Regions from separate parts of the Homo sapiens genome. Here region 1 is linked to region 2. The links are contacts of gene promoters, found by promoter capture Hi-C in blood cells and fetal thymus (Javierre and others, 2016). All regions are on one chromosome and are shown on one strand. The core of a region is centred on a gene start or on the middle of the fragment in contact, and the rest is flanking DNA. Distances in the headings are between cores, read along the strand shown. Region 1 has its middle 26 kb from the start of LINC02746. Region 2 holds the start of SLC36A4 (solute carrier family 36 member 4).

Region 1 (2,742 bases), core at 17-2,516, 260 kb after region 2:
AGGTCCAGCCCATACCTCCCGGCGGAGGGATCACGCAAAGGCATGAACACCAGAGGGCAGGAGTCATTGGGGCCATCTGCCACATTTACCTTCTTACTACGCACACCTTCCATTCTTTCCTTCCTTACCTCTTCCCTTCCTTCCTCATTCTCTCTTCTTCCTTCCAGGGCTTACTGTAAGTCTACAGTGGCCCGGGAGCTACACCAGGCATTGGGAATGCAAAGCTTATGAACACTGAGGTTTGCAGCCCAGTGGAGAAGAAAGGTCCAGTAAAATAACGTTTTCCAAGCTTCAGCCACTCGCTGTTTTGGCCATGTACATGGGCTTCTTAAATCTTTTCTAACTCAATGTTTTTCTTTAAAGTGATGGACCTTTAAAATATGGCCTCATCCTAAACTCATGGTTTTTGACTTTGACTGCCTGATGGCGTCACCTTGGGAGACTATTTAACCTGGAGATGTAGGGGATGTGGTTGACACCGGGCATCCCGTTCTCCCACCCCACACTTGCTTTACCATGTACTTATGCCCACCACAGTTGGGAGGTGACAGCTTACCTGGGGAGGAGATCCGTTCTTTTGCTCTTTGGAAACAGACTCCAAGCTTTGCCCCGTATTATTCCTCTGTTCTACCCTTCACAATATCCCCTGCCCTTACCCCTTTTCTGAATATTCATCAACCAAAGGGCAGTGCATCAGTGAAGGACAAATCTTCACAAAAAAGATACTTCCCGTTTGTTTTATTAAAAAGAAACGGAGCATTATTGTGGGCACTTGCGACTCCCAGTGGTAGAGAAGGGAAAATACATTCAGTGATGTCGGGGTAGGAGAGAAGGGAAGGAAGCATCTTTCACCAGCTCTCCGGAGCCTTTGCTTACACTACAAATGCAAAACAATGTCTCTAGGGGGCTAAAACAACACACACAAATAAGAAAACACTTCCACCTCTCATCCCTTATCCTCCGCAGTTTTATTCACATCTAAGTCAGGTAGCAATAGTCACCTCCACCAGTACAAACACAGCCAGAAGCTATAAGTGTCATGTTGTTCCCTCATCTTGCCCTTGGCCTCTTGGAGCTTAAGGACTGTTAATGACCACAATCCACTGAGACCACCCCTACTCCTGCCTGCCGAACACCCTCAGTGCTGTTTAAAAGCTCAATCCATGAGCAGCCACCTATGCCAGGCTCTGGGCTAGCATTGAGTGGAGTGGAGCAAAGGTGAGCCAGCTGCCCACTCTGTTCAGGTCATCTGTCTGGATGTCCCCTCCTTTGTATTTACTGATTCTGCCAGGCAAGAAGTTGAGGAGATTTATTCATTTCATTTAACAAATAGTAACTCACTGTCTACTGTATGTCCTGCATTGTTTCAGGCAATGAACAAAAAAGGCCTTGCTCTCAGGGAACTTACATTCCCAGCTACTGAACCTCATGTTCTTGTCTTTACTTAACCCCTGGGTCCCAAAACCTGCCCAAATGGAAAGAAATCTTAGTGATTCTCCAACTCCTGTCCCCTGTAAGTGAGGTTACTGAAGCCCACTGAGGTAATGTGCCCGGCCTGAGGTCACAGAAGAAGACACAACAGACTCTAGACTAGATCCCAGCGTCCCAGCTAGAGATAAATGTCAAGACACTCACAGCTGTGGGCACAAAGCTGTCTGTCTGGAAGCATTTTGGGAAAGTTAGAAACCTAGTGAGCGAACATATTTTAATACATCAATTTCATCAACTGGCGAATGAATCAGGTAAAGAGAAGTAATTATATCTTTTGGTTAAAAAGCAAAGTACTCTCAGGGACTCACAGACTTCTTATGAGACTGTCTTTTCTGCCTCCCTGAGTTCAGGCAGGATTCATCTAGAAGCATCCTCTGTGGGTGAGGGGAGCAGAGGCACATGGCACAGCGAGAGGCTGCCCAGTGTAGCAGAAGCTTCTCCAACATCCGCCCAAGTACCCCTCCTGACCAAAGGGGCTAATCCATATCTCAGGGACCTGAGGAGATAGTCCTATGCTGCAGGAGGAAAAGCAGAATTGAAGTCTCATATTTTACTATAAAAACCAATATGAGTGTTGCATTCTGAGGCACTAATATATCACTATGCTTAACATAAAAATGATATTTTTACCCAAATATCTGAATAAAATAAATTCTGTAGAAGGATACACCACCTTTATGCAGAACACCTTATCCATTACCCCTGGGCCTAAGAGCCTCCATTTTGAGAAGCACAGACCTGGTTCCAAACCCAACTCTGTCTGTGGAATGCTAGCAAATTAACTTACTGCCCTGGAACTCAATTTTCTTATCTGTAAAAGCAACACAAAGTTGTGAGCTCTAGAGAGAGTAAGGACCACTGAGAATGGTAATACCATTGTCAATACAGAGTTTTACAAGTTACCAAGCATTTTCCATGTGTTACCTTATTTTCATAGGAAGAGAGCAGATCTGGAAGCCAGTTAATCTTGGCTTTGCCAGAGTGGCTCTGTTGGTCTTGGGCAAATGGAGTAACTTTTGTGAGCTTCCACAGCCTTATTCATGAAAGAGGTGTCATAATGACGCTGTGGGTTATTGTGATAACTAAACACACATAAGGTGTGCAGGCTTCAGTAAGTGGCACATCTCACTAGTGCCTGGAGCAGCTGCTGTGAGTGGGTGAGAACACCAACCCAAGTCAGACAGGCTTGACTCTCACTAACTGGGTGTCCTTGGGCAAATCACTTAACATCTTTGTGTCTCAGTTTCTTTT
Region 2 (2,700 bases), core at 81-2,580:
ATGGAAAATTACCTTGGTCCTATAATTTCTGTCTGATGCCTATCTTCTCTCCTGCTGATCTTTAACCAGGTGATCCACCCCAACACAGGTTAGGGAACATTGCTCTAGCTATGTTCCAGAATAGATTTCTTCTTCTTCTTCTTTTTTAAAAAAAATCTCCTTTACCCCTTTATTTGTCAGGAACACTTCAAATAAAACCTTCTTTTGGGATTTGCATGTGTATGTATGTGAACAAATTGGGTTCACTTAAAGGAAAAGAAAGGGGGTTGGCAAACTGTCATTATCACTAGTTATCTAGTGAAAGCCTACAGAGGATGCAACAGGAGGAAAGATGTAGATAGTATGTAACTGCGTACCTTTTTAATCTCAGAATTTTAAATATTTAACACCATTGCCATATAGTTACATCAGTGACTGTTAATCAGACCCACTCCCCCCCAAAAAAACCCTTTCCTAAAGCAACCCCACTGAATGAAACGGACACAAATAAAAAGGATTGTCTGGTGTACTGACTTCCAAGAACTATGAAGTGAAAAAAAAAAGAAAGCGATTTTAAAATTAAAATAAATATTTTCCTTTTAAACCAAAAGCTTGCTTCATCCATTGATTCATCGAATATTCATTGGTACCCATCTGGGAGGCCAGCTTTGCATATTTTTCGAGAGCTCCAGCTCTGAAGGCAGAAGGATTCTACTTCTGCCATGTACAAGCTTCCTGTCCCCAGACACGTTACTTACCTCCGTGCCTTAATCCCTTCATCTTTAGCGTTAATGTAAATATTAGAATTATCTCACAAATTGTAGTCAGAATTAAAGATAATGTATGTATGGTGCTTAGGAGTACTTGAAACTACATCAGTACACTTAGTCTTTACCTTAATTTTCTTTCAGCACCACGGTCAACGTCAAATATCTGGAAGGACATTGAAATATCCTGAAAGTGAAATTGTATATGACTTAATTAAATTCTATTTAAGTGTCTCCTGTAACTCTAACTATAGAAACAGGGAGACGAATAACCAGAGTAGTCAGAACCTCAGCATGGGTAGGGGACAAATCCCGTCCTTCTTCGCATTCTCCAAGGTGACTTACAGAACGCTAACGCCTTGCATACGGACAGGCGCCCCAAATTTAAGTTCGCCGTCATCTTTAAAACCCCCAGGGAGCTATGGGCCCGGGTCTCGGCTAGCTCTAAGGTCCCACCCTCGCTGATCTCAGGTTACCCAACCCTCCTCTCGGGTTACCCAACCCGGCCTCGCAGCAGTCCTCGGGTCTTCGGCCCCTCCCGCCCCTCGCCGGCGGTGCCCGCCGAGCCGGGCTGTCCCACTGCGCATGCTCCTCGCCGCGCGGTTGGGGAGCGCCGGGGCAGGGAGGCGGGCACCAGGCGCGGGTCCCTCCGGGCAGGGGAGGTAGGCCTGGGCCTGACGCCGGCCACGCAGCGGCGGGAGAGTGAGCACTCGGGCGGCGGCGTCCTGGAGACCCGCGAGAGATGGAAGCGGCGGCGACGCCGGCGGCTGCCGGGGCGGCGAGGCGCGAGGAGCTAGGTCGGTGTTGTGCGTGGGCAGGGAGCCGGGGCTGACGTGGGCGGGGGTCTGTGCGGGAGTCGGGTGCGCCCACACCTCCAGGGGCCCCGCGCTTGGCCTGAGTTGAGGCCCGATTGCTAACTGACCCCGTGGTCAGCATCCGCAAAGGAACCGGTTATCTGACCCCGAGAACTTGGTCAGACGAAGCCCAGGCCTGAATAGGGCGTTAAAATATGTGTGTGTGTGTTTGCGCGCGCGCGTGTGGGTGAGTGTGTGTGTTGAGTGGGGCGGGGCCCTGTGGGTACACGTCAAAGACGCAAGAGCCTGCGCCGTGACTCACGGTTTTTTTCCCAATGATGCTTTAAGGAAGTTATCATTGTTCTGCTTTTCAAATGCTGCAGCCCCATTCGGAATCTCCAGATGAATCCTCATTTTACTCCTTGTTATCCCAGAGTTTCGAACAGGTCGTGCTGACCAGAATGAACAGGAGATACCTGTAGCTTGCTCACTTGGCAAAGTTTGTTTGTTTTTTGCTGCTTTCCTCCCATCTTGTTTCTTGGCGACAGGGCGTGTTTGTTTACGGTTTCCCGCTGTCCAAAATAAAAAAGTAAGGATCAGGGTGGTAAAATGATCGCTCTCCCAGTTATACGTACTGTACTTGGGAGTATTTTTCATTCGATGCTGATTAAATGTAATTAAAAAATTAAATCTAAATGGAATCTTCAAGAAAACCGTTGAACTTTAAAAAATACCGTATTATAAGTAACTGATAGGTTGTTGTTATTCCTCTAATAGCCTGCAGGGCACTTTGCAATGGAATTGTTTTCAGGCCGTAATAATGGTAGAAACAATAAACTTAACATTTTATTGCGTGCTTACTGTGTGCAAACACTGTGCTAAGTGCTTTACCTATGCATTGTCTTTAATCCTCACAGCAACTGAGATAGGTGCTATCATGATTTCCATTTTATAGATACAGTAATTTTAAGCTTATTAATGGCAGAACCCAAATGTGAACTCAGGTTTCATTCATTAATAACCTGTCTTAGTGAGGATATGGAGAAATGGGTATTCTCATGCATTGCTGGCAGGAAAGGGATAATATATTTAGCCTTAAAAATGTACATATCGGCCTGGCGCGGTGGCTCACGCCTGTAATCCCAGCACTTTGGGAGGCT

The links. Contacts are between HindIII fragments. The CHiCAGO score rates a contact against its expected background, and 5 or more counts as called.
Region 1: a contact is called between a fragment that was not itself captured here and the fragment with the promoter of SLC36A4 in region 2, in 2 of 17 cell types (M0 macrophages and M1 macrophages). The highest score is 7.2, in M0 macrophages.

What each region holds. Positions count from the first base shown.
Region 1 is chr11:92,940,206-92,942,947 of GRCh38, reverse strand. No RefSeq gene overlaps it. Among named protein-coding and RNA genes, the nearest start is that of LINC02746, 26 kb to the right of the region's middle. The HindIII fragment of the contact is 1,323 bases long and covers 605-1,927 here.
Region 2 is chr11:93,196,621-93,199,320 of GRCh38, reverse strand. It overlaps SLC36A4 (solute carrier family 36 member 4), which reads left to right and starts at 1,330. Exons shown (of 11, transcript NM_152313.4): 1 at 1,330-1,543. The coding sequence starts at 1,489. RefSeq lists a silencer at 1,189-1,568. The HindIII fragment of the contact is 1,801 bases long and covers 713-2,513 here.